Linked DNA regions of Homo sapiens: all the other regions are linked to region 3. Evidence: promoter capture Hi-C in 16 types of primary human blood cells and fetal thymus (Javierre and others, 2016). All regions are on one chromosome and are shown on one strand. The core of a region is centred on a gene start or on the middle of the fragment in contact, and the rest is flanking DNA. Distances in the headings are between cores, read along the strand shown. Region 1 holds the start of NUS1 (NUS1 dehydrodolichyl diphosphate synthase subunit). Region 2 holds the start of GOPC (golgi associated PDZ and coiled-coil motif containing). Region 3 holds the start of PLN (phospholamban). Region 4 overlaps GOPC (golgi associated PDZ and coiled-coil motif containing). Region 5 has its middle 25 kb from the start of FAM184A. Region 6 overlaps SLC35F1 (solute carrier family 35 member F1).

What was found. Contacts are between HindIII fragments. The CHiCAGO score rates a contact against its expected background, and 5 or more counts as called.
Region 1: a contact is called between the fragment with the promoter of NUS1 here and the fragment with the promoter of PLN in region 3, in 2 of 17 cell types (naive CD4 T cells and naive B cells). The highest score is 8.2, in naive CD4 T cells.
Region 2: a contact is called between the fragment with the promoter of GOPC here and the fragment with the promoter of PLN in region 3, in 3 of 17 cell types (naive CD4 T cells, megakaryocytes and naive CD8 T cells). The highest score is 7.7, in naive CD4 T cells.
Region 4: a contact is called between a fragment that was not itself captured here and the fragment with the promoter of PLN in region 3, in 1 of 17 cell types (naive CD8 T cells). The highest score is 5.8, in naive CD8 T cells.
Region 5: a contact is called between a fragment that was not itself captured here and the fragment with the promoter of PLN in region 3, in 1 of 17 cell types (activated CD4 T cells). The highest score is 5.2, in activated CD4 T cells.
Region 6: a fragment that was not itself captured here is called in contact with the fragment with the promoter of PLN in region 3 in 10 of 17 cell types (naive CD4 T cells, total CD4 T cells, non-activated CD4 T cells and 7 more); the score reaches 14.8 in naive CD4 T cells.

Annotation. Positions count from the first base shown.
Region 1 is chr6:117,672,962-117,676,764 of GRCh38, reverse strand. NUS1 (NUS1 dehydrodolichyl diphosphate synthase subunit) reads right to left here and starts at 1,296. Exons shown (of 5, transcript NM_138459.5): 1 at 680-1,296. The coding sequence starts at 1,094. It overlaps LOC101927919 (a long non-coding RNA gene), which reads left to right and starts at 1,481. Exons shown (of 3, transcript NR_110854.1): 1 at 1,481-1,668; 2 at 1,930-2,118; 3 at 2,683-3,803. The HindIII fragment of the contact is 6,476 bases long and covers 1-3,803 here.
Region 2 is chr6:117,600,504-117,604,561 of GRCh38, reverse strand. It overlaps GOPC (golgi associated PDZ and coiled-coil motif containing), which reads left to right and starts at 2,051. Exons shown (of 9, transcript NM_020399.4): 1 at 2,051-2,558. The coding sequence starts at 2,274. It also overlaps the pseudogene NEPNP. RefSeq lists enhancers at 1,660-1,949, 2,080-2,169. The HindIII fragment of the contact is 3,398 bases long and covers 1-2,405 here.
Region 3 is chr6:118,545,448-118,549,588 of GRCh38, reverse strand. It overlaps PLN (phospholamban), which reads right to left and starts at 1,293. Exons shown (of 2, transcript NM_002667.5): 1 at 1,197-1,293. All of the region lies in intron 3 of CEP85L (centrosomal protein 85L), which reads left to right. The HindIII fragment of the contact is 6,726 bases long and covers 1-1,537 here.
Region 4 is chr6:117,556,790-117,560,868 of GRCh38, reverse strand. GOPC (golgi associated PDZ and coiled-coil motif containing) reads left to right here. Exons shown (of 9, transcript NM_020399.4): 9 at 1-600. It also overlaps a transcript of DCBLD1 not described here. Among named protein-coding and RNA genes, the nearest start is that of GOPC, 44 kb to the left of the region's middle. RefSeq lists an enhancer at 2,542-2,591. The HindIII fragment of the contact is 192 bases long and covers 2,131-2,322 here.
Region 5 is chr6:119,101,598-119,105,406 of GRCh38, reverse strand. It overlaps a transcript of FAM184A not described here. Among named protein-coding and RNA genes, the nearest start is that of FAM184A, 25 kb to the right of the region's middle. The HindIII fragment of the contact is 2,048 bases long and covers 926-2,973 here.
Region 6 is chr6:117,971,404-117,975,735 of GRCh38, reverse strand. All of the region lies in intron 1 of SLC35F1 (solute carrier family 35 member F1), which reads right to left. Among named protein-coding and RNA genes, the nearest start is that of SLC35F1, 66 kb to the right of the region's middle. The HindIII fragment of the contact is 3,815 bases long and covers 341-4,155 here.

The sequences.
Region 1 (3,803 bases), core at 47-2,546, 870 kb after region 3:
CAGAATGGCTAAAATTCCAATATCCTCATTCCGATCTTTGTGGCCCCATTACGATCTTGTGGCCTTGGGCAAATCAGTTAATGTTTTTAAACCTTGGCAAGGGTATACAAATACCATCTACATTACTGCAGTATTATAACGAATAAGAGATTTTTTATTTATTTTTATTTATTTATTTACTTATTTGAGACAGAGTTTCGCTCTTGTTGCCCAGGCTGGAGTGCAGTGGCGCGATCTCGGCTCACCACAACCTCCGCCTCCCGGGTTCCAGCGATTCTCCTGCCTCAGCCTCCCTAGTAGCTGGGATTACAGGCATATGCCACCACGCCCGACTAAACTTGTATTTTTAGTAGAAACGGGGTTTCTCCATGTTAGTCAGGCTGGTCTCGAACTCCCGACCTCAGGTGATCCGTCCGCCTCGGCCTCCCAAAGTGCTGGGATTACAGGCATGAGCCACCGCGCCCGGCCAAGGGATATTTTTAAAATGTTAAAAAGCTACTGAGTCAAATCCAGAGAATTAGTAGGTGTTCAATAAAGCTGATCTCCCTTCCTCGAAAGCGCTAGCGCTGTGATTTGCAGAGAGGCCGCGGCAACTCGTGCCATGGGCACCACCCGCCAGACCAGCGGTCTAGCGGTCCAAGACGCCTCGGCCACCCCCCACCACCGCACCGGGCCTCACCTTGGTGGTCGTAGACGCTAATGTAGGAGATGCCCACGGCCATACACCACACCACGAGGCTCGCGATGTCCGAGAAGCTGGGTTCCTGCTCCACCTCGGTGATCACCAGGCCCATATGCACAGGCAGCTTCTCCAAGGAACGACCGTCCGCGCGCCAGCGCATCCGGTGGTGTGCGGCTGCCAGGCACGACCCCCCGCGCGGGTGCCGGTGGTGACGGCGGTTCCTGCCGACTGCCGGGGGCTTGCGGAGCGTGAAGCCGAGCGGCGCTAGGACCGCGGCAGAGGCGGCGCGGCAGCAGCGCCGCCAGATCCAGTTCCAGGTGCCGAACCGAACGCGGAGCCAGGAGGTGAGCGTGCGGTGCAGACAGAGCAGCGCGTGCAGCACCCGCCACACCAGCTCGTACAGCCCCGTCATACTCTTGTGGCCCTCAGACACCCCCTCTCCCTCCCGCCCACTCCCGCAGCGCGACGGCTTTTTATCCGCCCCTGCGGCCGGCGCGGGCCATCGCTCCGCGTCCCCCCGCCCCCCGAGCCCGAACCCCTTTCCACTGCCAACACCTCACCTCGCCCCCGCCGCCATCTTCCTCCTCCCTTGGCAGCCCCGCCCCCAGTAGTACATGGACAGTTCCGATTGGCCAGCGTGGAATTCTGACGCGGCTTCTGGGTCCGAGAACGTGGCCCGTTCCGGCGCAGTGAGGGAAGGCGCACGCCTGCGAACTAGCCGGGCCGATACCGCGGGCGCCCCCTGGTCGCGTGGAGGGCGATGAGCGAACGACCCGGGACTTGTCTGAATGGGACCCCAGCAAGGCACACGTGGTCTTCAATGCGATGGGCGCTTCCAGGGGACCCGGCGTCCCTTGGGTCCAGGAAGTCTTATACTGTCTCCTCTCACGGCCCCGACAGAAACGGTTTCTGAGGAGTAGAAGTGTCCTAAGTGGATTGGAAATTACAAATGCCGGAAAGAACCTAGGGATGGAAAGCAGCCCTCAGTAAGTGTTGATGCTGGGAATCCACCAGGGTTTCCAAAAGTGTCCTCAAAGGCTGGAGTGATCCTGCTACTGTCCTTTATTCAGCCTCCCGGCTGAGGCTGGGAGCGAGGCTCTTTAGCCATGTTCCTGAAACACCCCTCTACCCATGTCATTCTCATCTAAGGTATCCTTTCCTGGCTGTACATTGCTTAATAGAGGCTCTACAGCTTGGCAGTCCAGTCACTTAATTCTTTTTTTTTTTTTTTTTTTTTATTCGGCAAGACTTTGACCAACCGCCGTGGGTTAGGTTTACAGTGGGGAAAAAAAATAGAAATTGTGCCTGACTTCAATGACCGCCACTATTTGAAGCAAACTGCCCATCCAAGCCTTATCATCCCCTTTAACACCCTAATGTTTCTGTCCATGTGGACTTCGACGTGGTCCTCTAGAATGGTTTTGTACTTCCCCGCGGTAAGTCTGTACTGTCTTTGCCCTTTTTGTTCAAGCTCTTCTCCTGAATTCCTGATTCCCGACTTGGTATTGCCGACATTCCAACCCATTTCTCAAGGTTTATCCTACATGCTACATCCTCTATCATCATATATATGTGTGTGTGCAACAATAATATTTATATTATTTGCATTTATATTTATATAAGTATATATATAAAGATTAGGGAGGTATTACAAAAATGCAACTGTACACATACACACGTATACACACATATTTACACACGTGTGTGTGTGTAAACAGTTGCGTTTTTGTAATACCTACCTATTCTTTGTTCGCTAAAGCCTCTTTTTCCCCCTGGGAAACATCTGTTCACGTCTTGGCTATGTGACTTAATTTTTCTAACATTGTCACTTTTTCAACTAGTCTCATTTTGGTTTCTAAGACTCATTTAACTTTACTTTAAAAGTTGAATCTCATGTCCATCTCCCTTTCGCAGTGCAATTTTCCTCCCTTTGGCAGTGCAGCCTGAAGAACTGAGGGCTGGGCACCAGGCACACCCTTCACACACTTCTTTCTCTCCAGGTCTCCTCTGCGGTAGCTCCTCTGATGATGGACAAAGAAGGAGAGGCGAAAGGCCATGATCAGGGAAGCCTACAGTCTTCTTCCTCACTGCCCATTGCTGTAGTTTATGCAGCTACATGATGCTTGTTAAGGAAGCTCCCTAGACACCAGTGTCCCATTGAGATTTGGCCACGTATTCTGCAGACCCCACCCCACCCCCCATGCCGACTATGTTGCCACATTTCTCTACCGTACTCATTTCTTTGCCCCAATGTCTATCCGTTCTGACAAGATTAAAGACATCAATCTCATGTTCCCGTGGCCTGCTCTCAGGTGTGCAGGCACAAACAGGCTCTATCTTCTGTATTTCTTTTTTCCTTTTTTTTTGAAACGGAGTCTCGCTCAGTCGCCCAGGCTGGAGGGCAGTGGTGCGATCTCAGCTCACTGCAGGCTCCGCCTCCCGGGTTCACGCCGTTCTCCTGCCTCAGCCTCCCGAATAGCTGGGACTACAGGTGCCCGCCACTACGCCCGGCTAATTTTTTGTGTGTTTTTAGTAGAGGCGGGGTTTCACCATGTTGGTCTTGAACTCCTGACCTCAGGTGATCCGCCCGCCTTGGCCTCCCAAAGTGCTGGGATTACAGGCGTGAGCCACTGCGTCCGGCCCCTGTATTTCTTTGAATTGCAAACTTAAGCAAAAGGATTCTAGCCACATGTCCATCTGACACACTCACATGCAGATCCTGGCGTCTCTCCCCAGACATTTGCTTGCTTTCCTCCTAGAGTTTCCTCCTAGTAGCAGGTCCCCTAGCTCCCAGGATGTTCAGCCTCCTAAAGAGTGGTGGGGCGGCGGTACCCACTTTTCTTCTCTGTCAGCTGTCAGTAGGCTAGGGATGGAGGGTCTCATACAGAACAGTTCTCTGGGGGCCTTGAACCAACACAGTTCTTCCCCTTTTCTCACTTGTAGTTCTCGAGAATAACTGTAGAATGTGTTGGAATGCAATATACTATAGACAAGGAGGAACTGACCAGAACAGCCCAGGCTCTGTTCCAGTCTCTTCTAGAAATAGGATGTCCTTCAACTAGTACTAGCCCAGCACATCCCATTGCCCTGTAGTAAAAACTGAGAGCAGACTGCTTTCTGG
Region 2 (4,058 bases), core at 802-3,301, 950 kb after region 3:
CTGTCTCAACAACAACAATAAAAGACGTGATCATACCTACCTCATAGGATTTTGTAAGGATCAAAGAATTAAAGAAAATAGCATAATGCCTAACACATAGTAAGGACTCAATAATTGAAAGCTATTATAATTGTGGTTCGATGTATTCTCCCCCTGCCCTGCTAATTTTAAATTATTTACTTCGCGTTCCTGAAAATGCATTGCTAACTGTATTATGTGTAGATAAAGTGGCTGGGAGCTTGATAGCTGTAGCAATGTTTTTGCAAATATTGTAGATGAAAATAAAGCTAATTTTGGAAGGGAATGGGGAAAGATGTAAATTTTAGTTTTACATTATTTATTGTGTACTAAAACCTGTATGAAGGTCCCTACTTAAGTCTAAGGTCAGGATCTCATGATCCATTTTGATTAGCTAAGTTTGCTCAAGCCAAAGGACTTTATTGCTTCATGCTAACCAGTCTGCCATGCAGTACAAAGACTGCAATAATAAAATTGTGATTTCTTGCTCCTCAGTTGCCTTGCATCAGCGAAGGGCACACAATGCAGGCTTTGGGTTGTGATTAACCGTAAGGGTCTGCCCCAAGAACAGATAACAGCAGACTGCACTCAGCTAAATATGCTTCTAGGTAATGCAGGAGTTTCCACCAGCCTACTCTAATCACACAGGTTTCTCTTTCCCTTTCTAGGACTGTCTACCCTTGAACTGGAAGTAGGCAGAATGTAAAGAGAGGAGTTGCTGGATACTTTTAAAGGCACTGAAAAATTCAAGTTAAAGTTATAGTTGAGGGGTAGTAGCCTCACTAGCCTATCTTGAGTAAGGGTCATGTCTCATTCATTTTTGTGTCTTCAATGTCGCAACAGAGCTCTGCATTCAATATATTTGTAAATATATGAATTCACAATTTTGATTTTCTGAAATGTCACGTGTGAGGACACTACCAGTTTTCAAATAAATACACCTTTTAAAGTACAGTTATGTGCCAAATAACAAGGCTTCAGCAATGAATGGATCGCATAAACTATGGTGATCCTATAAGAGTATATGACTGTACCTTTTCTATGTTTAGATATGTTTAAGTACACAAATAGTTACCACTGTGTTATAATCGCCTACCGTATCCAGAATGGCAACATGCTGTACAGGTTTACAGCCTAAGAGCAATAGGCTACATCATATAGCCTGGGTGTGTAGTAGGCTATACTATCTAGGTTTGTGTTTAAATACACTCTAGGATGTTCCCTAAGGGATGATTAACCTAAGGACACATTCCTAAGAACATATCCCCATCTTAAGTGAAGCACTACTGTAGTTGCTTTTGAAATGTGTGACCTATGGTGTATTAAGAGGAATACCGTGTGCCAAGAAGTGACGCTAAGCGTTTTACCTTACAACTGAGTTAAGTAAAATTTGGAAACTTGGTTTCGAGGTTAATACATGAAAGGCGACACAGGTAGTATGTGACAGAGGGTAAGAATTGAATCCAGGTCTACCTGACTCTTAATCACAAGACAAAAAGTCTTCTATTAATTCCGCAAAATCTGGTCAGCCGCTTCAATGCGCAGCTTTAGGCAGTCCACACCTGGAATTTGGGGTCTGGTTTACCAAGAACAGCCAGTGTGTACACCCACTCCATCCTATCCAGGAACTGGAATCGAGAAGGTAAAAACGTGGCTATTGCGCATGCTCACACCGCCCTTCCTTGCTCTCCCCTCCCTGACCCTAGATGCCACCGCAGCAACTTTCTGGGAGGATTTTGGAACGGCTCCCGCCAACTGTTAAGTCAAACCGGCGGAAATCCTTCCTTTCTGCGACGTGGACACCTTTCTCATCCTCGGGCCTTTCCAACCAGGGTGCAGAAACCACGCGCCTCCGTTTCTCAGGGATTCAAGCCGTAGTTTGCCAGTTGTTAATATGGCCGCTGACAGGCCGCTCCCAAGCTGAGGCCTTTCATAGGCCAAGATCGCATCCTGTCCCCGCCTATTTTGTCCCTCGTGGCTGCGTCCGCCCAGCTCTTCGCTACGCATGCGCAGCGGGGGCAGGCTGGGAGGTGGGACTGACTGAGTCTTCCGTGTGTCGCCGCCGTTGCCGCCTCAGCTTCAGCCTCGTTACTCCTGCGGTTCTGTGACTGTGCTGCTGGCGTTAACGGCGCGAGGTGAAGGGAGGTGACGGAGTGTGCCCGCGCGCGCGGGGGTCCCCTCAGTCCCAGCAGTTCCCTTCGTGCGCGGGGGGCGGCGAGGGTCTTCAGCAGTCGGGAGAGGCCCTTGACGGCGCCATGTCGGCGGGCGGTCCATGCCCAGCAGCAGCCGGAGGGGGCCCAGGGGGCGCCTCCTGCTCCGTGGGGGCCCCTGGCGGGGTATCCATGTTCCGGTGGCTGGAGGTGCTGGAGAAGGAGTTCGACAAAGCTTTTGTGGATGTGGATCTGCTCCTGGGAGAGATCGATCCAGACCAAGCGGACATCACTTATGAGGGGCGACAGAAGATGACCAGCCTGAGCTCCTGCTTTGCACAGCTTTGCCACAAAGCCCAGTCTGTGTCTCAAATCAACCACAAGCTGGAGGTGAGCCGTGGGTGCTGGCGGCTATGGCATCCAACCCCAGGCTGCCCGGTGGCGTCAGATGCCATTTAACGCTCCAGTGAAACGACCCTAGAAAACTGCCCACCGGGGCTTCAAATGTGATGGGAGAGTGCATGTCTGAGGAGTGAGGTGAGGGTGGGGGACAAAAAGGGCCCTAGACCGACGTGTGAGTTCCCGGGGTACTGTCGTCCACCTTCCTAGTATCTCTCTGAGGAGGAAACTAATTACATACACCAGCCTCCATTGCACATGTTACATTAACAAACCTAACAAAGATTCTCTGTCATGAAAATACCGTAGGCCACCTTTTGACAACTGAGTTTTGCAGATCTGCTTTCACATTGATAAACCGAATTTGTATATGTTAAGACAGATACAGCACTGATTATTTTCATTTTAATTATTCCAGGTCAGCGCCTATGATTGCATACAGAGACATGCATAAACTATTTAGGGGAATCTGATCAAAGCTCTTAGGAAAATTTCGTGGTGCATAACGATAGTATCACTGTCTCGGTTTACATCCATAGTTGGTTGTTAAATTACAGGCAGATACCTCCAGAGAGCTCCCTGCAATTATTGAAATTACTTCTGACCTTGAGTTTTTATATGCTTGTACATTACTGTGTAATTTTCCAAAGTCTGGATTTATTTTTGAGAGAGTGTAAAGAATCATTTGCTTTAATCTCTGATCCTGGGTGTGGGTGAGGGTGGAGTGGCTGTGGTTCAAAAAAACAAAAATATCATATTGTGCAGAAAATTTAAAAAGGACATTATTAAAATATTTAGAAATCAAGATAGATTAACATTATTGCATAAAGAGTACTTTCTAACTAGGCAATTTAAGAGAATGGGTCTTTCTTTTCAAAAAGTGTAATAGATAAAAATGGGATAATCAGTGATGTGCAAAACTCTGAACATGCTTTCCTAAGAAATCATCATTACTCGTTGTCATTGACAGTGCCCATTATATCTATATCAATATGAATGTCAGTTAAACATCCTCTCCTTGCCTAGTGGTCAGCATTCTTTCTCTCCTATTAGCCATGAAATATGTGGCATAATTAATCTTTGATTAACATAGATTTACATATCCAAGAATTGTGGCTCTTCTCCACTGCGAGAACTGTTAATTTCTTCTATCCTTTTTGAAAAGATTAGAAAGTGCTAATATGAAGGTAATCACTTCTTACTGTAGGTAAATGAAAACATCTCTTGATTTCTTTATTGGTAGTAATTTCCACAAGAAAGCTATTTTTCTCAGATAGTGAAATTGCATTTAATGTTTTCTAGAAATAGTACTTTAACTTTATTTCATCTTATTTTATCTTATTATATTTTTTTCAAAAAAGAGATGGAGTGCTTTGTTGCCCAGTTTGGTCTTGAATTCCTGGCCTCAGGTGATCCTCCTGCCTTGGCCTCCCAAAGTGCTTTGATTACAGACATGAGCTACTGTGCCTGGCCATTAGTTCTCTAGCTTTA
Region 3 (4,141 bases), core at 44-2,543:
TAAGGAAAGCTGCTTACAGAGTTACAAAGTTCTTATTTGTAGTGAGCAATAGAATTAACATTTGTCATAGGAATTGAGAATTTTAGAGATAAATTTTATTTTAACATATATATGAAATATGAAAATCAAAATAAATAAAATATATGTAATTTTCTGTATGCCCTGACAGAGATCTAAGAATGAGGAAACGTTTCATTTACTAAATTGAGGATTGTAACATAAAGAATAGGGTAGAATTCAAACAGAAGTCATAAAATTGATTGTGGCATCTCCATTCCTGGCATTTATTTTATTTTTTCCTTTCTTTCTAAATCCGAGAGAGGAAATGGAGTACCACTGGAGGATAATAACTTGACAAAACTATAGGCATTAATAGGCAGAAATCCATTTAATCAAATTTGTGTGAAAATAAGATAGTTAAGAATATTCGTGTGTCAAAATAACTTTTTAAAGTATCAAATTATTCTCTAACGTCAGATTTTTTGTGTTTGTGAACATTGTTTTAAAATTTCTAAACTTCTTTATGATACAATATTGAATTTAATATCAGTAACTCAATTTATTAATAGCATGGAATTTTTTTAGAAATGTTTGTTAAAAGTTGACTGGACTTTAGAGGGGAAACATCCTCAAGGGCACTTTAAAAGTAGCTTGTATTATATATTCTGAAACTCCATTTCATTATTCACTGTATGAAATTATGATAATATTGGAATAGGCATGCTGATAATGTGCATGTTGTAGTCAAATGACTATTCATATTAGTTCAGATGTAAATAGCTCAGTTCTGCACTGTTTCTCAGCAGAGCAATAAATAACAAAATTAAGTCATTGTTTTTGCATGGAGAAATTAACCACTACTACCAAATATGGTAACATAATTGGAAGATTTTTTAATTGGCAGAAATTCACATTTGAAAAGCAAAATAAAAGTGAAAGATAAATTTAAATGACAAACCAGTAACCAGGATCAAAGATGAATATGACCTTTTTCATTTCAAAGTTGTCTCATTTTTCCTGTCACTAAATGGATAAGCATTTATAAATTTAAGCACTTTGTCATGTCATTTTATTGCCTAAGATTGAACTGATATTCATAAAATTAACTCATTTTAAAAGTTCAGATTATAGAAATTATAGGAATTAAGAATTATAGAAAGTAAGAATTACCAAAGTCAGCGAAATCTGTTTCTTACCTTGGCAGCTGTGATCATCACAGTATAGAGTATTGTGTTGTATGAAGTCTTACGGGTGTTTAGCTGGGGAGTTTTCTGACTCTGTCACCCAGTTTATGGGAACAGTTGCAGTAGGTGGAGGAGAAAAAGTGTTCTAGGGAGGTCTTATGATGTCACATAGGAATTCTGAAGTTTCGATTGGTTAGCCACAGTCTCAGTCTTATCACAACCAAACTTTAGAACTTCTTACTTTAGGTATGGAAAAGTCATTAACACTTTGTGCTTCATCTTTTGTTTTTAATTTAAAACAGTATATGGTAGATAAATGAAAAAAATAAGTAAACTTGAGGTGGTGGAAAGCTTTTGTTAAAGATTCATGCATCTTCAGGCTTAGAGATAATTGAATATTAATGGTGAAGATGTTGAAGAGCTAAAATAGTTACTGCAGGAATTTTAATTATGAGAAAAATAAACACAGGTATAAGCAAAACAACTTTCATTGAATTCTTGCTGCTGTTGCTTTAATACGTGTCTTCATAATGTTAGCTTTTAGTGAAAGTGAAATATTTTTACACAATAAAATTTTATACCTGTTTTCTTATTTTGTTCTTGTTCTTGTGTGTATGGGAGAAGGAGTATGAGAAAATCAGGCTAATTGCTTTTTGTTTTAAAAAATTATTTTTATCTTACAGTTAAAGAACTAATAAATGTATTTAATTCATTTGTGTTTTCTTCAATTAGCAGTTTAACAATATATTTGTGAATAGTAATACTTATATTTAAACTGATACATACAACACCCCCAAAATAGCAATATGCTACTTTAAGTATTTAAGATTTTTTAAAAACAATTGCATTAAATTATTACACAATCTTACCAAATTTTTAATAAACTGATGCAGTATTAAGGGCAACTTTATGGCAAAAAAGAAATAATTACAGATTCCAAATCAGTTACATCTCAGTTAATGAGGCTTTATAGGTTTGATGTGTTGAAATTTAAGTTTTGTAATGTTTTTGAAAGGATGTGCCTCATTTAATCTAGCAGTTGCTTTCCTGAAAATTACTATAAAAATGAGATGCTAGTAAGTGAGATGATATTTTGAACTTCCTAGAACAGTTTATCTTACAGTAGAACTGGGGAAATAATTTTTTTGTAAAGCCGGGCATCATTCTCCTCTTCTCTGTTTATCTAATTTGTTGTCTTAGATGTTAGATTTACTTAAGTCACCACACTCGAAAATATTAATTCTTAAATCTCTTCTTTAATTTTAGAGGAGGTACTTGTAATTTTTAATTTTTTAAATGCTTATGACAGAGTGAACTTAGCCCACTTCACTTTCTTATGGGTAACTAAAATGTGTAGCAGCAGCTGCTTACATGCCCTTAAATGGAAATGATCTTGGCTTCTTCCAAAGAAAGAAAATCCATCTCTAGAGCAAATCATTTGATATTTAAAGAGTCAGCTTAAAACTAACTGAAAAATAATATTTTAGCAAAGATATCCTGTGAACATTGCCAAGGGAAAATTTACAACTTAAAAGTAAAACCCAAGTTAAGGAAATTGCAGAATAATGTTTGATACTTTTCTCAGTGCTACAACCATTTTTCTTTCAATCCTTACATAATGAGGATCTCTCAGTACTATCAGTTACCAATGATGATTGATAATACAAAACCGAGAAGCCTAACGAGGTTTACAGTAATTTGTCAGAGATAACCAGCTGCTAAAGAATAGACAGGATTCAAATCCAGATCTGTCTGTTTATAATTCCTAATCTGTTGGCATGCTGTGGGAAAAAATTATAATTTGAATATAGCTTTCATTAGAGTAGCATATAGTAACTGAGAAATTTTTAAGATGTAAATAGATGCATTCTTGAGCACTGTTAATAGTTTTAGAAAGTCTGCTTTAAGTTTGTCTACCAGTTACACATTCATTTGAAATTTAGGTGATAGATCATTGTTCTGAGAACTTCTCATTCTAAGAAAATAGAATTAGTAATACTTAGTTGGATAAACCAAGAAGCTGCCGTAGACAGAATAAAATATGCCCTAGTTACCACATGTTTATAAGTTTACTTAAAAAGTATACATAGGCATATACACACCTTAGAAGGATACTAACAACTGTGTGTGACACAGTTGGAAAATGGATTCAAAAATTTACTTTTTAGATTGGTACAAGAGTGGGGAGTTTTTGTGTTTACCTTGTTCCTTTGGGTTAGCTAGTGAAGATGACGATGATGGTGATGATCTCATGTGGAACTCTAGGAAGTATTAGATTTTAGTTTTAACTGAACATTGTTTTTAATTGCCCAAACAGAAAGTTGTTTAATAGGAGTATTAATGAGTTATAGTGTTATCAGTAGAGTGTTCCTCAATGATTCCTCAGCTAGAGGCTAGAAAATTTTTTTGAGGTGCTTTGTCACAGTCTTCATTTGGAGTTACACTATAGTTTGAATGTATTTTTGGTCACATGGCTTTATACAAATAACTTTCCTAAGCAGCCTAATCTGTGGAATAGTATTTGTGATGGTTTAATGACATGAAGTGTACATAGTGATTATCAGAGATCCTGCAACAGTGTTCATTTAGTGTTAGCACTTATTTTCTTTTTTCCTTTAGAAGGTGGATTCTTAAGGGTAAAGTGTCTTTGAACTTGGATGGGAAAATAATTACAAATTTATTTTTACTAAGCTCTAAATGAAATTTAGTATTCAGTTTCAACTGAATCATGAGTTCATGTCTTTACTTTTGTTTTTATATAGTTTTGTAGCATTTTAAATGTGTTCCTCAAAAGTATTACTAATTTTTTTTGGAAGGGGGTGCGGAGTCTCACTCTGTTACTCAGCCCCGAGTGAATGGTGCGATCTCAGCTCACTGCAACCTCTCCCTCTCGGGTTCAAGCGATTCTCCTGCCTCAGCCTCCCAAGTAGCTGAGACTACAGGCGTGTGCCACCACG
Region 4 (4,079 bases), core at 977-3,476, 990 kb after region 3:
GAACTGTTGCAAAGCCATTTCATCGAGAAGGGGACAGAAGGAGAAATACACACATGTATACACAAACAGAATGGTTGAGAAAACGTTTTAATAAAATGTGAGGGTTGTATGTGTGCGTGTATATATTTACACTTAACCTCTAAAATTCTCTTCTACAGTATCTCTGTTATGAATATGATGGAAAAGCAACATTTTGGTGGTGAGACTATTGTTAAAATAAATTTGAGAAAGACGAAAATTTTGTGAGTCTTGATAATTACAAGTCAACAGCTATCGAAAGTTAGCACAGCTTGTCTGTGGTGCTGTTTTTTTCCCCACTGCAGTGGACTTATGCTGTTTTCATGTTTAGAAACAAAAAGGTTTCATGTGATTCATGTGTAAGATGCACAGTATTTGACATCCTGATTATGTAATCCCTATTCCATCTATCCAGTCTTACACTTATGGTTGGCCTCAAATCTATTGCATTTATGATAATGTATTATATCTAGTTGAGTTTAATATTTTTTTATTAGCCTGTAAATAAAGATGGCATCTTCTACATTAAAATGATATTGATCTCATTTTTTTAAATAAACATTTTGTTTCCTTGACGTTAAATATTTTGGCTTGTTATTTATTTCTAGTAGTTCTATTATTTGTACCAACATGTCATAAAGTCTGTGCAAAGGACTTGGCTTAATTTTGTGTTATAAATATTGCCAGCTGTTGTTATCTATGAGGAAAACATTGATGAAAGTTAGAAAATCAATCCTGTTTTTAAGATACTATTTAAAAGGGTATTCTTCCATTTTGACATCTAAGTATATATGATTTAGAAGTTCCTAAGTTATATGTAAAATAATTTTTGGAAAATACTTGTAAATGAATTACTTGAGTTATGAACATTTAGAAATGTTATGAACATTAGAAATACATTTTTGTCACTGACTAACCTTGATTTAGTGCTAATACATATATGCTTTCCGTGTGTTGATTTAAGCTCCCAATTCACCAAGTGATTTGAAAAGAAGTCTTTTCCCCAGAATACAACCCCATAGGATATTGGTCAATTTATGAATTTTTTTTTGGTCAGTTTATGAAATTTTAAAGAGAACTTGTATTTTCATTGTTAATCAGTATTTTATTTTAGGTGGTTTTATAACTAACCTTAAAGAAACACTTTAAAAGTATTGCAAATTACCGTGCACTGTTGGTGCTGAATATTTGTTCAATAATGAACCTTTTTCAGGTGTGATTTGAGAGCTATAATCACCACGGCAGCAGCCATGAGAATGCATCTGTCAGTTCTCGTGCAGGAGGGAGCATAGCTTACTGAAGGTCCAGCTGCTGTGGTCTGAAATCCATCCCTGTGTACATGGTGAGGCTATGCTCCTCCATGCTGCTGCCAGTCAGTGACTGATTATGACAGGGATATTATATGATGACTCCTCAACTTTAGCTGGAGCACTCCACGATGGTCTTGCCAAACTCCCTTAGGATTACATTGTAGTCCAAGTTGCTTTCACCCAACCTTCCTTCCTCCTTTCATTCACCTTGGGTCTTAACTCCATTGTGATCTCATTGCCTTCCAGCCTCCAATCAACTCCAGCTTCCTACCTATTTTTCCTCACTGGCATTGCCGTTAATAAATCTGTTGCACAGCAGATCCCTTTTTGGTGTTGGCGTCTGCTTCTTAGAGAGGCTAGATTAACACAAGTGACCATGAGTGAGATTTGAGGAAACAGGTAATAAGATGGGCATTAGGAACCCACCCAAAGGGTAAAGACAGTGACATCTGGTTGGTGAGTATAGTTTATCTAGTCGTTGGCACAAAATCATGGCTCAGTGGCTATTTCACAAATGGTGTGCAGAAAAGAGTTAACAGAACAGGCCTGAACCTGTTGTCTTTAGGTCTGCTTGCAAGGTTGGACCTTGGCTAGCGTCCAGCAATTTGGATATCAGGAGTATTCCCATTATCCCCTTGCTGGTAAGTGCGGTTTACTGTGCCTGAAGTGTTTGTACAAACAGTAGGATTTTTGTTGAACACTTACTTTCCTCTGGGAATCTAGAATTTTGGTACATGCTAGGCAGAGGGTACCTACACTGACTTCCCTAAAACCTTGACTCCTAGGTTCAGTCAGGCAAGCTTCCTAGGTGGACAACACTTGATGTATTGTTACACATTATTGCTAGAGGAATTAAGCATGTCCTGTGTGACTCCATTGGGAAATGAATCTTGGAGCTTGTACCTGATTTTCTTGGGACTGTGCCCATATGCCTTTTCCCTTTCCTCATTTTGCTTTATATTCTCTGTAATAAATCATAATTGTGAATAAAGCTTTGCTTAGTCTGATGAGTCCTAGCAAACCACTCAACTTGGGGAGAGTTTTGGAGACTTGGGACTGAAATTGGAAAACATTTTATTTAAATTGGAAAAAATTATTAAATTGGAAAAAATCCAGCTTATGGAGAGGGGAACTCTCCAGGAGGGTCAGTGATGCAGACATTTGAAAAATGTGGGAGAACAACATCTACAAGAATAGCAGAGTTGGCCGGTTACAGCAGGATTGTATTAATGACCTACAGAAATGGATGGAGGGGGGCAGCTCCCAAGGAGGCCTTACCTCCTACAATGGAGGGATTGAAACAGCTGAGCTTCAGGCTGAACACCTAAGTGTTAAGAGTTGCTGAGTTTCAGACACTTGAATGTTCAGCGAAACCTCTTCTATTTTGTGAAAGTCAAGGCCCTGGTGAGGAAAACCTAGAACCATGGGGAGATCTGGATGGCTGCACCTGAGAGACTTTGCAATCTCTACTGGACTGTTGGTCTTAAGAAGAAGCCCACGCTTCTCTAATAAGACCTTGTACCTTGTCTATGCTCCAAGATGTTACAGAGGCTGCTACTAACCACATCCCTAAGGCAATACCTGCCCCTACCTAGTCTGCTGCCAGGCCTGTAACTAGGGCTAAATCCTAGTAAAGCCAGGATGGGAGATGTGCTGGGCCTGATAAAGGAGAAAAGAAACTACACAAAAAGTGTAAGAATTAGCTAGCACATTCTGGCAAAAACCAAAGGAGTACTCCTAGAACTGAATTTTATATTTTTTATTTTTATTTTTTTTGAGACGGAGTTTCACTCTTGTTGCCCAGGCTGGAGTGCAATGGTGCAATCTTGGCTCACTGCAACTTCCATCTCCTGGGTTTAAGTGATTCCTCTGCCTCAGCCTCACAAGTAGCTGGGATTACAGGTGCGTGCCACCACGCCTGGCTAATTTTTGTATTTTTAGTAGAGACGGGGTTTCACCATGTTGGCCAGGCTGGTCTTGAACTTTCTGACCTCAGGTGATCCATCCGCCTCCCAAAGTGCTGGGATTAGACTGGCCACCGTGCCCAGTCTGGAATTGACTTTTGAGAGTGCTTGATCAGGGTGTAAACTTATTAAAAGAAAGAACTGAAATTAGAAAACATTTTATTTAAATTGGAAAAAATCCAGCAATATGTTGTTTAAAAGGAACATACCTAAAACATAAGGACATAAAAAATTTGAAAGTGAAAGGAGAAAGAATATACACTGGGCATATTTTCTCCAAAAGAACATGGATACAGTTATATTTTTTAAAAACAGACTTTAAGAAAAAAACCATTAGGGATAAAGGTTACTTAAATTCTTAAAGAACCAATTTACTACAATGTTAAATCTATCATCATAGTGGGAGATTGCAACAAAACTTTCAGGCAAATTAGGAAAGAAGGAAGATTTGAACAACAAGCTTGATTTAAAGTTTTAAGAGGGCATTTGGTTGTAAAAGAAATACCTCTGGCGTCTAAGTAAGAAGATAAAAAGTGAGCAAAAAACAGAGATTTTTCAAAAGAAAACATACAAGTGGATGATAAACATGAAAAAAAAAGTTCAACATCACTAATCAGAGAAATGCAAATTAAAACCACAATGAGATATCATCTTACACCAATCAGAATGGCCATTATTAAAAAGTCAAGAAACAGATGTTGGGGAGGCTACAGAGTAAAGGGAGCACTTACACCGTTGGTGGGAATGTAAATTAGTACAACCTTTACGGAAAACAGTATAGAGATTT
Region 5 (3,809 bases), core at 700-3,199, 560 kb before region 3:
TAAACCATCAGATCTCAGGAGAACTCACTCACTATCCCGAGAACAGCAGAGGGGAAATCCACCCCCATGTTTCAATCACCTCCAACCAGGCCCCTCCTCCAACACGTGGGGATTACAATTCAAGATGAAATTTGGGTGAGGACACAGAGCCAAACCATATCAATAGTACAGAAAGTTCCTATATATTCCACACCCAGATTCCCCTGTTGTTAACATTTTATATTAGTATGACACACTATTATTAACTAAAGTCCACATTTTATCCCATTTTCCTAAATTTTTACCTACTATCCTTTTTCTGTTCCAGGATCCCATATAGGATACCATATTACATTTAGTCATCGTATCTCTTAGGCTCTCCTTGGCTTTGATGGCCTCAACAGTTTTGAGTAGTACTGGCCAGTGTTTTATAGAATGTTCCTCTACTGAAATTTACCTTATGTTTTTCTCATAATTAGACTGGACTTAGGGGTTTTGATAGTGAAGATCACAGAAATCAACTGCTATTTTCATCACATCAGATCAAGGGCACATGCTATCAAAATGACTTATCACTATTGACGTTGACCTTGATCACCTAGTTGAGGTAGTATTGGGTAGTAGCTTTCTGCACTCTAAAGTTACAGTTTTTCGCGCGTTTTATAGGGCTTTTTGGAAAGAAGTCTCTATTTGCAGTCCACACTTAAGGAGTGAAGAGCCATTTAATTTTATATGTAAATAAAATGTAATTTATAATTTTGAAAGCATGCACCATTTAAAAAAATGTAATCATCAAAGTCTTGGTAAGTTGTGGCATCTTGACACTTTACACACTTAAGATCATATTCTTAGAATCTTTGTAGGGACATCTTCTGTGTGATACTATTTGCGTGATACCACTTTGGACACATTTTCCCAGGTTCTCAGATTATTTCTCTGACAAGCTTTTATTATCAGGCACTATGGTGGACCCTGGGAATGCAAACCTGAGACATTATCCTTGCCCTCAAGAGGTTTAAGTTCTCATTTTAGAGATTCCACATTCTAAAAGCCAATACTTTCCTCGTTTTTCTTGCGGTGGCATTTGGAATATTTTCAAACATCTTTTTAGAACTATGGTTGGCCAGGCATGGTGGCTCAAGCCTGTAATTCCAGTACTTTGGGAGGCAGAGGTGGGCAGATTGCTTGAGCCCAGGGGTTTGAGGCCAGCCTGGCCAACATGGCAAAAATACAAAAATTAGCTGGGCTTGGTGGCAGGCACCTGTGGTCCCAGATACTTGGGAGGATCGTTTGAGCCTGGGAGGTTGAGGCTGCAGTGAGCCCTGATCACACCACTGCACTCCAGCCTGGGCAATAGGGCAAGACCCTATCTCAAAAATAAAAATAAAAATAAACTTACATAAATTAAATAAAAATATCATCATTTTCCAAAATATGGCACAATACATTATTACCAGAGTAAAGAATGAACATTCCTCTTTTTTTTTTTTTTTTTTTTTCTCTACACGGAGTCTCACTCTGACACCAGGCTGGAGTACAGTGGCTCGATCTCTGCTCACTGCAACCTCCACCTCCTGGGTTCAAGCAATTCTCCTGCCTCAGCCTCCCAAGTAGCTGGGACTACAGGTGCGTGCCACCATGCCTGGCTAATTTTTGTATTTTTAGTAGAGATGGGGTTTCACCATGTTGGCCCAGGATGGTCTCAATCTCTTGACCTCGTGATCCGCCTGTCACAGCCTCCCAAAGTGCTAGGATTACAGGCTTGAGCCACCGTGCCTGGCCTCCTCTCTCTCTTTTTAAAAATATTTTGTTTTCCTGCCTCAGAAAAACATAGATGTGGTTCCTTAGAATTTCCCTGAATTTTTTCCAACAAATGAATTGGACATCCAATTATGCACAATCTTCTAGTTTTGTCTTGCTCATCTTTTATTATTGAAAGAGCAAAGAACGCATGCTGGGATGGAAGGTCTACCACCATCCTAATTCTTGCATCAGCTAAAGTGTCTTTGTCTATAAATTACAAAAAAATCACTCAGCCAGATTGGCTTAAATAATAGAAATTTGTTAACTCATGTATCAGAAAATCCTGAAGTAGTCAGTAAATAGATTTGGGGGGGTTGATGTAGCTACTCATCAATGTCATCTTGGATCCAGCTTCATTTCGTCTTTCCACTCTACACTCATCAGTGTCCTGGCTTCATACTCTGACTGGTAACAAGATGGATGTAGTAGTTTCAGGCATCACATACAGACACAGCAGTGTCCACAGGTAGAAAGCAGGCCCTTCTCTATCCTTGTCATGGACAAGAACCAGGTCCCTGAACCACATGATCATAAACCAATTCCTGGCAGGAGAATAAGAATATCATAATTGATTCAGACCAATTAGGGTTGACTCCCGAGCTGGAGGTTACTCCAGAATTGCATGAAGAACAGATGAATATCTGAGCAAAACTAGGGTCCTGTTAAGAAAGAATAAGAAGGGAGTAGACATTGTATAGAAAACCAAGGCCTACTATATGCTCTTTGTAGCATTTCCTGGCAGGTCTGTCCTACTTTAGAGCTCATATTGTTCTTCTCTGCCCTTTTTTAGTGATATTTTCTTTTCTTTTTTCTTTTCTTTTTTTTTTTTTTTTTTTTTTTGAGATGGAGTCTCTGTCATCAGGCTGGAGTGCAATGGCTCGATCTCAGCTCACTGCAACCTCCTCCTCCTGGATTCAAACGATTCTCCTGCCTCAGCCTCCTGAGTAGCTGGGGCTACAGGTGCATGCCAGCATGCCCAGCTAATATTATGTATTTTTTAGTAGAGACGGGGCTTCACCATATTGGCCAGGCTGGTCTCAAACTCCTGACCTCAGGTGATCTACCTACCTCGGCCTTCCAAAGTGCTGTGATTACAGGTGTGAGCCACTGTGCCCAGCCTATAGTGATATTTTCAAACTCAAGATTTTCTGCTGGTAATAGCTCTCTGCTTTCCTGATACATACTGAAGCTTATTTACTATGATTCCTATTGCCTAATACACCTGATTCTAAGTAGAGATTATTTTAAGCACAGGCCTCCTTCTCATGCCTTATTGGTCTTTAGGGTATAACAATTTTAGTAATAATTGGGGGGAATTAAGAATTCCACTAACTGCTGGCCTACAGCAAATCCTAAAGGGCCAATATCTTACATTTATAATCAGCTTCACTCTTTTCATTGAAAATTATACTCCCAATCTTCTGATGAGGGATGGAAAACAATCTGCTGTTTCCTGTGCCCTGCCCTAACTACTCCTTTTCCATGATAGAATATTATTCAGTTTCTTCCTAGCATTACTCTATTTATGATGCATTTATATACTTTATTTATTTTTATTTTTATTTTTTTGAGATGAAGTCTCACTGTGTTGCCCAGGCTGGAGTGCAGTGGTATGATCTCGGCTCACTGCAACCTCTGCCTCCCAGGTTCAAGCGATTCTCCTACCTCAGCCTCCTGAGTAGCTGGGATTACAGGCACACGCCACCAAGCCCAGCTAATTTTTGTATTTTTAGTACAGACAGGGTTTCATCATGTTGTCCAGGCTGGTCTTGAACTCCTGACCTCGGGTGATGTGCCCACCTCAGCCTCCCAAAGTGCTGGGATTACAGGCGTGAGTCACCGCACCCAGCCTATCCTTTATTCTTTAATTTTTTGTGTGTCTTTATGGTGGTTGTCTCCTACTATGTATCCCACTTGTACCAGCAAGGGATATGAATACAAAAGATTCATATGAAGAATGTTAACATGATTTGTACATATAATTTAAGCATTATTAGTATGTTACATCCCATGCCCACACTCAAGAA
Region 6 (4,332 bases), core at 999-3,498, 570 kb after region 3:
ATACAGACTACAACTTCAGCATAGCACAGAGCACTTGTAGAACAGAATAAGTTCCCTTTTACATAGGTTAGTAGATTCCCGTCTACAAAAATAAATAAATAAATAAGAGAATCACATCTCCTATCACTCTAATCTGGGAGTTTTTAAAATTACACCTTACTATAGTAATTTCACATCTGATTGACAGGTTAAGATACACAATTAATTCTAAAACATCAAAGTGGGAGGGAGATCATACTAAAATGAAAAAAAATTTTCAAGGCATTAGGTCCTATAGTATTCTTCAACAACACTGCCAGACTTTTCCTGGGATGCTGCCAGCCAATCCCAGGTCAAAGCTTAATTGGCATTCCCAGTTAGCGGACTCTAAATTTGAGAAAGGCCACACATTGTCTTTAAGCATTTATAATGCAGTTAACTCTAATCAAAATTTCTTTATTTTTGTCAAATAACTTCAACAAACTTTTTTTCTAGCTATTTAATGTTCTCATTTATTTGAGGATGGGCATTAGCACTGAAGGGTGAGTGAATGACATTGGAAAATCATTTTAGTCAACTTGTTTCTAAACATCAATGGAAGGAAGTAAACATTTCCATCTGTTCAGCTCATTAGTGCTGATAAATGGAGATTGCAAAACTCAGAGGCTATGGATTCCTAATGGACTTGACTTACATCAGTGGCTCTCCAAGTGTGGTGTGGGAAATCCCTAAGATCCTTTCAAGAAGTCCAAACCTTCAAAACTACTTTCATAATCATACTAACACATTATTTGCCTTTATCACTCTCATTCTCCTACAAGTATACAATGCAAGTTTTGCAACAGATTGATGCAGAAGCAGATATGTGAGTCCACTTGTCTTCTATTAAGTCAGACATTAAAGAGATTTGCAAAAATGTAAAACAATGCTACTCTTCTCACTTTCTGTTTTATTTTGGAAAACACAATTTAAAAAGCATTATTTAGATTAACCCACATGGGCTTACTTTTGTTCTTTGGACATGTCATAAATATTTTTAAATTCCTCTATTTTAATTTATAATGTAATGAATATAAATTGAGATAATCCCACAGAAACCAAAGCTCTTTGGGTCTTTAATAATTTTAAAGAGTGTAAATGAGTCCTAGACCAAAATTCTTAAGAATAGCTGTCACAGATCTCTTATTTTGATTCAGCATTAAAAAGTTATATTAATGTTGAGCTCAGACACTCCAAAAAATCTTTCCAGATTTTCAGAATCAAAGCAACCTCCTGCTGTGCTCCAGAGTTCAAAGGCATTTTTGACTTTATGCTACTCAAAATCCAAATTAAATTTCACTTCAGTGCAGAATAAGAAATTTTCAAATATCATTCATTCATCCATTCAATAAAAATTTACTGAGTATCTATCATGTGAAAATACAGCTATGTTTGGAACATTGCTAGTCTGGGGAAATAAAATGGTATCTTTTCAGACTAAAACCATATATGCCCTGCTCCTAAATAGTAAGACCTAACACTGATTAAGTATATGCTAAGTGCTAGACCTTGTACTAAGTGCTTAATGGCATAACTAATTTATTTCTAACAAGAACCCTATGTATTATTATTATTCCTATTTCATGGATGAGGAAACTGGGGCATAGAGAGATTAAACAATTTGTCCAAAGAGCTGACAAGTGGCAGAGCCAGGATTCAAACCAGCAGAATCTCTGCATATAACCTCCCCAGTAAAACTGGCACCATCCAGCAGGGTACTGGGCCTGGATATGCATACCAGCTGCATGTAACAGAGCTAAACCCAAAGCAATGTCAAGATTCACTGGATGTAGTTTACCTTGGCAGAGCTGGAAGAAACCATAACTTTGAGTTTACTGTTAATTCCTGGATTCTGACTATTGGACTAAAAAATTAATTGATAGGTACTTCTGGTCATCCTTCACTTATTCACAGTTATAAAAGTTGTGAAGAAATGGCCCTAATATTACCCATAATCCTAAAGTATAGTTTCTATAAAACAAGTTTTGACCAGCTGGGCATGGTGGTACAAGATTATATTCCCAGGTACTGGGAAGGCTGAGGCAGGAGGGTCTCTTCAGCCTAGGAGTTCTAGGCTGCAATGAGCATGACTGCATTCCAGCCTGGGCAACAGAGCAAGACCTTGTCTCAAAAAAATATATATTAAAAATTAAATAAATAAATAAACAAAATAATAATAAATTTAAAAACAAGTTTTGACCTTGCAATGTGGAGAGACCCAGAAAGCATATCATCATCAAACCAGCTCTCAGGAAAAATGTCTACGAACCTTCAGTAACACTTATTTTTAGGTAAATAGATGAGTAAATAAATACATAAATCAGTCATTATGTCCTTTGTCCCCTTACAACCCCAAATCCATATGTTGAAGTCCTAACCCCCAGTTCACTTCAGGATGAGACTGTACTAGGAGATAAGGACTTTAAAGAAGGTAAAATGAGGTCATGTGGGTGGACCGTCATCCAACAGGACTGCTGTCTTTATAAGAAGAGAGAGACTAGGGACACATAGGTACAGAGAAAAAGCCATGTGAAAGCACAGCAAGAAGGTGGCCATCTGCAAGCCAAGGAGAGAGGCTTTGGAAGATACCAAACCTGCCACTGACACCTTGATCTTGGACTTCCAGCCTCCTGTGAGATATTGTGAAAAAAATAAATTTCTATTGTTTAAGCCTCCTAGTCTGTGGGATTTTGTTATAGTAGTCCTAACAGATACTGTAACAGATAAAACACCAGCCAAACTCTTTCATCCAACTGTATTTTTTAAAATTCCACAATTTTAACATTTATCATAATGCTTGTAAACTTATTAAATTGTAGCATCTAGGTACTTGCCTATGAAGAAAAACAGAAGTATCCCTAATTTTATAATGGGGATCTAGGTATGGGTGGCTGATATGATTTGGCTGTGTCCCCACCCAAACTTCATCTTGAATTGTAGTTTCCATAATCCTCACATGTCATGGGAGGGACCCAGTGGGAGGTAACTGACTCATGGGGGCAGGTTTTTCCCATGCTGTTCTTGTGATAGTGAATAAGTCTTATGAGATCTGATGGTTTTATAAAGGGCAGTTCCCCTGTACACGCTCTTGCCTGCCACCATGTAAGATGTGTCTTTGCTCCTCCTTCGCCTTCTGCCATGATTGTGAGGCCTCCCTAGCTATGTGGAACTGTGAGTCCATTAAATCTCTTTTTCTTTATAAATAACCCAGTCTTAGGTATGTCTTTATTAGCAGCATGAGAACAGACTAATATGGTAAATTGGTACTGCAGAGTGGGGGCACTGCTGTAAACATACCCAAAAATGCAGAAGTAACTTTGGAAATGGGTAACAGGCAGAGGTTGTAACCACTTGGAGGGCTCAGAAAAACAAAAGAAAATGTGGGAAAATTTGGAACTTCCTAGAGACTTGTTGAATGGCTTTGACCAAAATGCTGATAGTGATATGGACAATCAAGTCCAGGCTGAGGTGGTCTCATAAGGAGATGTGGAGTTTGTTGGGAACTAGAGTAAAGCTCACTCTTGCAATGCAAAGAGACTGGTGGCATTTTGACCCTACCTTAGAGATCTGTGAAAACTCAAACTTGAGAGGGATGACTTAAAGTATCTGGCAGAAGAAATTTCTAAGCAGCAAAGTATTCAAAAGGAAGCAGAGCATGAAAGTTTGGAAAATTTGCACCCTGATGATGATATAAAAGAAAAACCCTTTTTCTGGGGAGAAATTCAAGCCAGCTGGAGAAATTTGCAAAAGTAATGAAGAGCCAAATGTTAATCACCAAGACAATAGGGAAAATGTCTCCAGGGCATATCAGAGACCTTCACAGCAAGCCCTTCCATCCATCACAGGCCTGGAGGCCTAGGAGGGAAAAATGGTTTCCTGGGCCAGGCCCAGGGCCCCTGTCCTCTATGTAGCCCCAGACATGGTGCCCTGTGTCCCAGCTGCTATAGCTCTAGCCAGGGCTAAAAGGGGCCAATGTACAGGTCAGGCTGTTGCTTCAGAGGGTGCAAGCTCCAAGCCTTGGTGGTTTACATGTGGCATTGGGCCTGCAGGTGCATACAAGTCAAGAACTGAGGTTTGGGAACCTTCACTTAGATTTCAGAGGATGTATGGAAATGACTGGATGTCCAGGCAGAAGCTTACTGCAGGGGTGGACCCCTCATGGAGAGCCTCTGCTAGGGCAGTGCAGAAGGGAAATGTTGGGTTGGAGTCCCCACACAGAGTCCCTACTGGGGCACTGCTTAGTGGAGCTGTGAGAAGAGAGCCACCATCCTCCAGATGCCAGAACTGTGATCCAGTGACAGCTTGCACTGTGCA